2 separate regions of the Homo sapiens genome follow, and region 2 is linked to region 1. Evidence: promoter capture Hi-C in 16 types of primary human blood cells and fetal thymus (Javierre and others, 2016). All regions are on one chromosome and are shown on one strand. The core of a region is centred on a gene start or on the middle of the fragment in contact, and the rest is flanking DNA. Distances in the headings are between cores, read along the strand shown. Region 1 holds the start of CKMT2 (creatine kinase, mitochondrial 2). Region 2 overlaps MSH3 (mutS homolog 3).

Region 1 (4,917 bases), core at 1,685-4,184:
TAGTAGGTTATAGGATAATCTTATGAATATTTATGAGAGGCCCTAATGCATGCATAGCCAGTAATCATATATGTTACATGTTACATACAACCCATGTTCACTTTGGGATGGAGACTTAAAATGTAGTAAAATTGGGCTCTATATGTCAAAAGATGGAACACAGGGCACAAAGACGCTTGGTGTGCAATCTCTGTAAACCGGCCAGAACCGGCTGTGGTCTGTGGTCAGTTATGAGGATGGAGTGCTTTGTAAGGCTGAACACTTGTCAGGGGGAAACTGCGTTGAGGGAAGGGGGGGTTCGCCACGTCAGGTTGTCTGTTGAAGTTGAGGAAGAAATCTTCCAGACATAGTTTTTCAGTAACTGGTTTTAGTTTAATTTTAGGAAAGAAAGTCTTGAGGCAGTTATCGAGGTGGGAGAGCGTTGGGTGTGACTGACCTCTTGCCTTGCCAAAGCTGTAGAATCTGGTTTTTAATGTTTCCTGGGGTCTCTTTTTACCACAATGAGTCTGTTTTGTTTTGCTTGGGGGCCTAGGGGCTTTATTTTTATTTTACATCTTCTTCATAGCAGTGAACTCCTTCAGATATATTATTTACTTCTAAATATTACTTCTAAAGTTCAGGGAGAAAAACAGTTTAGAAGAGGCCCTAAAATTCAAAGAATTTGGGGAAAGCTTTGAAATGATACGAAGGATCAACTAATCACACTTTCTTTGCAGTGCTTAGATTCTTCCTGTGACATCCCCAGCCTATATTTGATACCTCCAGGCACAGAGAACTCACTACTACCTGGAACAGCTCAGTCCATTGCACAGCAGCTCAACGCTCCTGAATGGGTGGTGGAGAGAGGAGAAGCCGCCAGGGTAGAGTCCTGGCCTAATAGTCACCAGGCTCCACCTAGGAGGGGCTTCTGAAATAAGACTCCTGTCTACCCCTAAAATAACTGCAGTGGTTATATGGATTACTATATATGAAAATACTTTAACTTCTATGAAGTTGTGGCAACATTTAGAGCTGATGGAATTAAGTTACAGTTGCTGGACACAAGAATAGACTAAGGAAAGGGGTCCCTCCTGCCCAATTCTGAAATGAGCAATCCAGGCTGGTGCGACAGAGGAACCCAGGTTCCTTTCATCCTATTACTTGCTCATCCCACAAGGCGTCATCCTTGCCTTCGAGGTCAAATCTGGGGCCTGCTCTAGCCACACTCCTGCTGGACTCAGGAACAGAAAAGAGAATAAGTCCAGGACATTTTCCTTTAAAGCAAATGATATGGCAGTCGCACACTTCAATTCTGTTCCTGCCCTTATGGCAGAAGCCAGCCACAGGGCAGCCTGGTGTGGCTAGAGCCCCAGAGCTTCAAAAGGAGTTGGTAACGATGAGAAGGGAATAGATGCCATGTGACAGGGATGGCATTTGAAAGATTTCCAGAAAGCCAGAATTTCTACTGTGAGTCCCTTGTAGAGATTTCATCCCCATCACACCACCTTTATAATAAGCTTGAAGAGGACCAGTCCCCCAAAAGAAGGGTGGTACCCTCTTTTCTCAACAATGACCCAATTTTTCTTCTGACCTTACTAACATAAACATTTACTCTATAAAATATAAGGTGTTGAGGTCGGGTGAGTGGAGGGGGCCCTAAATGTTGATTAGGCAATTGGGGAGGAAAAGGAGGTTTTTGCTATAACTGCCATTCTTTAAATCTACAATTCCATGCTCTTTAAAAGCCTTATAATTTTCTGGATCTGGGAGCTGGGCTATTTCAGGGTCAATGGATTTATTTCAGTTGGTGCCTGAACTGACTTGAAACAAGTGTGTGTGGAAAAGAGCTATTTTGAGAAGGAATAAACCGAGACTGCCCTGATGATAGAATATGCAAGCTGGTGGGTCTTGACTCCTTAAAGGATTATGAAATTAATTTGATTGGTCCCAATCTTTATATAACCACCCCAATCAGGAAACTTCCCATCCCGCCAAAAGGCCCCCTCACGTGCTCTCCCTGTCAGTACCCCATGCAAAGGTAAAATAGATGATATTTTTAAACATGGGTCGTGTTTAAAAGAAATGGAAACTCCTTCAGAGAATGAAGGAGAACCACACTGGGTAGAAGGTTATTCCTGGGGCTCCACCCCTTGCTCCATCAAGTCCTCTGAGCATGAGCTGGGCTCTGAGAAGGAAGAGACAGGAACCAATTGGTCATGTCCACGTGGCCTCAGAAGCTGAGTACGTGACGGTCACCAGATGCCTAGGCAGGCTCCCTTGAAATGGCAGGGCTGCTGTCCAAAATCCTGCTGGGTCATTGCTATTTACAGGCAGCCTTCCCGGCGTGCGGTGGATATCCCAAGCGGGGCTATTTTTAAGCAGGGCTATGGCCTGCCGTGGGTTAAGCTGGTGTGGACAGAAAGCGAGATGATCTAGCCATCTACTGCAGGGGGCCTGATCTTGAACAGAAACCTGACTGTAATTGTCCCTGGATCCAGGTCCCAGACAAAGACGCTGGAAGGAGGTCCCTCCAGCCCCTGGCTCAGGGCCCGGTCAGCTGCTGGAGCCAGGCAGCTTGAGACATCCTCCTCTCCGACCTTGGCTTGAGGGGTTCATCCTCCAGAGCTCACCAGGGCCCCAAGGCTGGTACACCTGAGAGAAGAGAGAAACAAATCCCCCAACAGATGTGCAATTTCACCTGCTGGCCCTTCCATTCTGAGATCCAGAGCCCTGGCAAAGGAGCCTCCAGGACCAGGCCTGGGAAGCAAGACTGGCTCCGCCTTTTACGTTTCAGAGAAAGGGCAGGTGCTATAAAGGGCCCAGCGCCCACGGGCCTGCCTTCAAGGGTACAGCTGTGGGGGCCGGTGCGCCCGGAGGTCTACGCTGGGATTGGTGAGGTCCTCTGGCCCCGCCCCGCCAGGGAGGATTTCCAGGCCGGCCCGACCAGCTCGCCCTGCATACACTTCTTGGCTGTGTGCGCTCAGCAGGACGTGGGAGGCTCCGGCTTCAAGGTCGGTGAGTCCGTGAAACTCTGCTTTATTCCTCCAAAGAGGGGTCATGGCTAGAGCCAGTGTGAAGGGCCTTGGAGGAGTGGATGCCGGGCTGTAGACGGGGACCCCGTTAGGACGCTGACTGCGAGGAGGCAATGGTGACTCGCTAAAGCCAGCAGAGCTCCCGCCCTTGGCCGAAGCGACCCCTCCTCCCTGCACACAGGTGGGGGCAGCTCAGCACCAGGAGCAGAACAAATCAGCACGCTGCCTGCAGGGCCTCTTTTTGGTAGTGAATCAGGAATTTTTCTCGATGGAAAAAAAAATCTAAAGGCTGTATTTTGACGCTAAGTTTGGGACAACTTTAAACTTAAAGTGTCTTTCCCTTGTAATTCACAGAGTCTAATCCACTCATTTCTGGGAATGTTTTTCCCCAGCAGTCTCAGTCTCAAAAGACATGTAAATCAGTGACTTGGGATGAACTAACTAGAAAATTAAAATTTTGAGAAGCTATTTGCTCATAAGCCCAATAGCCAGGCCCAGTTTAAACGGGCAAATAGTATTGCTAGAGATTCAGTTTTGCCGTCACTAATACTAACACATTGATAATGAGACAAGTAACCGTCTCCCCTCCCCACCATCCTTACCTTTCCCACCGGAGGTTAATTAAAAAAAAAAAAAAAAAAAAAAAAACCTATGGAATTGGCCCCACGTGTTTCACCTGGGCAGAGGCCTGTTCTTCACTAGCTTGCTTGCTTGGTTGGTTGTCCCGGGGTTAAAATCAGTCCTGTTCTTGCCCCTAGAGTGGTCTGCCTTCAAATGCTCTCCTCCGAATGTGAGGAAGAGTGACATTTGACAAACAGACCAAAACCTTTAGGTCTCCTCAGTGCTGCCCTTTAGACCTTCCAGAAAGTGTTGCCAGGCTCGTGACCCCTCACAGTGTCAGCTGAGTCAAGTGAGGGGCAGTTAGTGGCCCTCAGGACAAGGTTACGCTAGGTACACCAGTGTGCTGTTTCCAGAAGGGCTGCTTTTCCTGTCTACGGCTCTCACATTTTCTCTGTTCTGAACTCGTGTCCTTGGTCTGTTCTCTCTGTCCTCTCATAGAGGCGAGCATGGCCACAGCATGTGGCCAGAGACTTCCTGACAGGCAGGCTCTTCCGGGAGGCTCTTGGCCTTGTTTGGCGGTCTGAGCACTTCACTTCCTCTGCATTGATAGGCACCTTTTCCAAAGACCCCAGACTTTGGAGTTAATCACGCCTGTGGGTTAAGGCACTGTCACAGCAAAGCACAGGAGTGCCACATGCACCCCATGGACTCTGCCAGCCTCATGACCAAATCATATCATTAGGAAATGGGCCATAGGCAGGTCAGTTTTCCTAAGGAAACTGTGGGTTGGGTCGGGGGGAGTACCATACAGAATGGGGAGTCCTGGGGTTTCAGACACAGGAGGGAGACTGACTTTGCCCCTAGCTCAGAGGCCCTGGGCCTCCATCTCTGCCATAGCCTACAGCAGGCTCCATTTGTCTTCCCAAAGGAAGCCACGTAGAGTCTGTGTCAAGCATTCTGGGAGCTCCTGCCCACAGAGCCAGGAATCCAGCAGCAACCCATGCTGAAGGTGACTGCTGGAGGTCACACTAACCCTTGCCAGGAAGCCTCAGAGACTCCCTCCCTTGGGCGGGGAAGAAGGCAGCCCACTTCACAGCACTTCAAAGGACTAGATGGCTCCTAGCTTCCTGTTTTCTTGAAAACAATTTACCCTTGAGGGACAAAGTCTGGTAACGGTCCCATGCCTTCATCACAGGAGGCCTAGGAAAGGCCTCTGTTTTACAGAGTAGGATTCTAAATATCTCCTTCCTGCCTAGGACTGTCTATTTGCTGAGTAGAACAGTAATGCCAAGAGTGCCCATTAAGGTTGGCTGCGTACTAAGTGGTTTTGAGGTAACGCACACCC
Region 2 (4,917 bases), core at 695-3,194, 470 kb before region 1:
GAGTGACACATGATCTCAGGGGAGACCCAAGAGCTAAACAGGCATCAGTTGTTTTTTAGGACAATTAAAGATTCTGGATTTGAACCTAAGATTAATAGCAAGTCACAGATGAGTTTAAAGCAGAGGTGTGACATGAACAGATTTGGGCTTTAGGAAAACCACTCAGGCTGCAGTGTGGAGAATGAGTTGGAAAAAGGAATGGAAGTGGGGAGGAAAGTTAGGAGGCTGTTTCAATATAATTTGGACTTAGACTATAGTAGTGGCTGTAGAGGTGGAGAGTGGTGGATGGATTACAGAGTCCACCCTGCTGAGAATGGAAGAGCCAGCCCGTGTGTGTACAAAGCTCTGTCTTGCTCTCCTGCATCGTACTAACAAATGGTCCTTCTGCATGCAAGAGTATGAGCCAGAGAAAAATGGAACAAAAATGAGGCCTGAAGTTAGTATAGAAGCTCTGTATTATGAAAAGGCATGATCTCACAGGTAGTTAAGGATAATAAAGACAAAAGCACTCACTAAATCGAAAGTCCTCAGTCTGATTGTAATCTAGCCAGGATCCTGATCTAAGATTTGCTTTTCATATCAGTGTGTATGATGTCAACAGAATTTTGAGAGACACCAAGTTTATTCAGTGGCTGATGCCTCCTTTCCCCCAAAACATCAGTTCATTCTTTCATCCACTTGTTTATTTATTCATTCATTCATTTACAAACACTTTAAATCCTTACTGAGGACTTACTACTCACCAGACATGTTTACTTATCTTAGTTTTTAATACTACAGATGGTCATTATACCTAGTGTGGGCCTTTGATGTTTATAGGTACTTCATGGACCACATCTCATTGATGATACATTTAGTCCATCAGATTTCCGTTTTAAGTTGAGTCATCACTTAAGGTGTAGCCGTTGGTAAAATCCCGCAGCACTGATCTCCTATGTATCTGAATGTCATATCCTCTGCACTTTCTATTGCTACTCCCCAATCTTTGGTCAGGGTCAATATGTTTAATTTAATTCATTCAAACAGTTGGTCAGTTCAGCCATCACCACCACCACTAGGTCGTCTTGTTGGTCATTGTTTAACTATTATATTAGCCAAGGTAATGCAAGCTATCAGCAAACAAATTCTCCGTCTAAGTGGCTTAAATACATTAGAAGTTTATTTCTTGCTAATATAAGTTCAATTGGTAACAGATCCGGGAATGGTGGATTTTCTGCTCCACTGTGGGCTCAGGCTGATGGAGTTACCATGAGGCTCACAAGCTTGCCTAGCTGGCAAAGGGGATTAGGAGAATGTGAAAGCTTATTCAGGAAGTTTTTATGGGCCAGGGCTAGAGGTGGCTTACATCATTCCCACCCATGCTTCAGAACTGAGGTACATGGCCATACCTAACTACAGGGGAGACTGGGAAATGTAGTCTTTGTGTTTGCTTGGTGAGCCTGTCTTTGTCAAACCCAGCTAGTGAATTTCCTTGTATGATACCTGCTCTTTGATTCAGATAATAATAAGAGGCATGGAAGGACCAGATATATTGTTGTAGGACTTTTTCCTTAGTTCAGTTAAAGACAGCGAGGTTGGGGGAGGGTGGTCCTCATCACACAGCCATGTAAAATTAGGCCCGCAGACAATTCGAAGGAGGAGAAAAATGGAATTTATTGGGCAAAGAGCAATAAAAAGGGAAACAAAGACTCTCCAACAAGACAGAACGAGAATCTTGCTAGTATGCTTCCCGCCTCACAGACTGTAATCCCAGGTTCCACCCAGGAGGAGGAGGGGCCAGGCTCCTCCCTGCTGCCAAAGGCGTGAACTTCTGTGTCTCCACCCCAGTGCACCCTCCTCTCAATGCATACGCCCATTGGAGTTTTGTCAGGGAGTCCTTCCCACATGACTATCTCAGTATGAAGGAGGAGTTTCCTTTGTGCCTAATAAGTGGCTGTGTCACATTCCTGGGCATTAGAGTGGGAAATGTCTATATTCTGAATTCCTAACATATCTGATTATTGCTATTACTCTTTTCTCACAGGGAAATAAATGCCCGGCTTGATGCTGTATCGGAAGTTCTCCATTCAGAATCTAGTGTGTTTGGTCAGATAGAAAATCATCTACGTAAATTGCCCGACATAGAGAGGGGACTCTGTAGCATTTATCACAAAAAAGTAAGTGTGATAGAAATCTATTAAAGCTGACAGTGTTCTTCAGCTTGAGGACACTATATATTAAAAGAAAACTTTTGAGAGCTCTATTATTATTTTATTTTGTAAAATCTTACAAATAGCATGCGAGAGTAGCTGAATCCTCAGAAATTTTAATAGTACAAATTAGAGTTATTCCAATTTTTCCATTGTAGAAAATAAAGTTTTCTCATGTGCCTTAACTACAGCAACATAGAGGCCCTTCTGTTATAATATAGGGTATTCTCCTGTTTCATCCTGAAAGTACAGACTATTATCAAAATAGGAAATTTATGTAGACTTGTTATTTTAGAAAAAAAAAACCTTATTTCTTTTGATCTTAGAACAACTTATTGTTTCTTAAACTATGGAAAAATCTGCTAGTATAACATCTGTGGTGGTAGTTAGTATGCAAACAAGCTTGGATATTGAAGGTGAGTAAAGGATTATTTTGATTTTTATCACTTAAGCTTTACAGTTTGAGTCATAGCAAAAATGAGTCATTTTCCACGGTTAGGGAAATAATTTAGGTTATCTTCAAAATATGCCTAAAATTAAAAAAATTATTAATATTTTTAAATGATAAAACACTATAAACTATGGTGTTTTACTTTTTGCAGAAGTCATTCACATACCTTATACTCTTTGTTCCTTATCAAAACTTTATGACATTGAGAAGTTACTATTTTTATTACCTTCTTACTAATAAGAAATTATATCTAATGCTATATATGTGTGTGTATATATATATGTATATATATAAAATGCTGCAACCACTTGAATTACCTTGGCTAATATGATGATGCTCAGAGGTTTAGTAACTTGCTAGTAACAGAATCTGTATTTAGACCCAGGATTCTTGACTGTGTTTTCATTGGCTGTGTCTTTTGGATGCTATCATGTTTGATGTAGTTATCTTGACTGCCATTTTTTTTTTCTGGTTGCCACTTTTCATAAGCAAATTTTATTTTTCCTCCAAATGTAACTCCTTGCCAATTTAATAATTTTACTGTGTAACCATTTTTATGTGCCTAAATTTTTATTTTATTTTGTTTTATTTTGTTTTATTTTATTTTATTTTAATTTTTTATTTTATTTTATGTTATGTTATGTTATGTTATGTTATGTTATGTTATGTTATTTTATGTTATTTTATTTTATTTTATTTTTGAGACAGACTTTTACTCTCGTCACCCAGGCTGGAGTGCAATGGCGTGATCTCGGCTCACTGCAACCTCTACCTCCCAGGTTTAATCGATTCTTCTGTCTCAGCCTCCTGAGTAGCTGGGGTTACAGGCACCCGCCACTATGCCTGGCTAATTTTTGTATTTTTAGCAGAGATGGGGTTTCACCACATTGGCCAGGCTGGTATCGAACTCCTGACCTCAGGTGATCCACCCGCCTCGGCCTCCCAAAGTGCTGGGATTACAGGCATGAGCCACTGCGCCCAGCCAATATGCCTAAATTTTAGTTGTGACCAATTTTTCATTAGTGTTTCTATATTTTTCATCCCCTTTTACCCCCACAGAGTTTTACTAGAATGATAAGTACTGCTTCTAAGAATACTTGAGGTGCCCAAGAGGACTTACGTAACTGTTTTACATGCCTCAGCTAAATTTGAAAACAATGCACAAGCCAGAACTGGAAATACTGATCCTGGGGAGAAAGATATATGAGTTGGTTATGGGGCCGGGGAGCCTATTGCATCATTATTGGGTACACCATGTTATTGTTTTGCTGGCAATAGCAGAAGCTGTGCTGATAGTCGCAAGTTTTATGGTAGACCTTTTTGAAGTTGCAATGTGGGTGCCAAACCATTTGTTGTTTTTATCCTTGGCTCAGAGCCTGAAAATTGATGCATATTAACCTTCTTTAAACAACAGATCTCCAGGCACCTTGCCTTAACTACTTCAAAGGATTCACTGACAGATGTCAGAGATTTGAAAACAGAAGCAAAGCTGAAAATCTTTCAGTGGCTACTCAAATGCACAAAGTCAAAGTGTCCATGGCATCAAGATGGCAGCATCAGTTCATGGGGCTGTGATTTCTATTCCACCTTCCTGCCTTTTTGTAAACTTTACTTTGATGTTTGTATTGCACAGGGTTTGTGTATTTATAAAAGTTTCAAAACTCTAGTAAAGTCAGAATCTAATTCATTTAAAAAGTGGCCGGTATGCAGTGCAAGAATGACTTATTTTGGAATTTCAAAATATAGTTTACTAACGGAACTTATAACTCACTTGGAAGCCATTCCTTGTTGCTGTTTTAGTGTTTGTTTACACAAGAATGTACCTAAAGATTAGTTTGAAGGGTGAAGAGTAGAAATGATCTGGTAACAAACCAACTTCAGGAAAGCTGAATGCTTTAAACCAATGTTTTATAGATTAGTTGGCTGGCTCTGTGTACACACCATCAAACATATGTCTGTTCTTTATTATTAGATTACTCTAAATAAGCTTCTACTGTGTACACCACATAGTGGGTGATGTCCTGGGTACAGATTGTGCCAATTATGTGAAATTCATAAAATGAGAAGGAACACTGGATGTTGTGGGAAGTGGTTAGCATAGGCTGTATGGTTTTGTGGAACGTGCCCTGGAATATGTACCAATAGGTGTTTTTATGGTGATAATGATAGAGGATCTCAAGTGAGCTGATTCTGGTATAAAATAGACATTTCTTCTTCTTCTTTTTTTTTTTGAAACAAGATCTCACTGTGTCACCCATGCTGGAATGCAGTGGTGCG

What was found. The method cuts DNA at HindIII sites, captures the fragments that hold promoters and counts their contacts. A CHiCAGO score of 5 or more calls a contact.
Region 2: a contact is called between a fragment that was not itself captured here and the fragment with the promoter of CKMT2 in region 1, in 1 of 17 cell types (endothelial precursors). The highest score is 5.8, in endothelial precursors.

Annotation. Positions count from the first base shown.
Region 1 is chr5:81,230,388-81,235,304 of GRCh38, forward strand. CKMT2 (creatine kinase, mitochondrial 2) reads left to right here and starts at 2,935. Exons shown (of 10, transcript NM_001099735.2): 1 at 2,935-2,990. The HindIII fragment of the contact is 4,095 bases long and covers 1,495-4,917 here.
Region 2 is chr5:80,759,523-80,764,439 of GRCh38, forward strand. It overlaps MSH3 (mutS homolog 3), which reads left to right. Exons shown (of 24, transcript NM_002439.5): 13 at 2,024-2,156. Among named protein-coding and RNA genes, the nearest start is that of DHFR, 110 kb to the left of the region's middle. The HindIII fragment of the contact is 1,290 bases long and covers 1,300-2,589 here.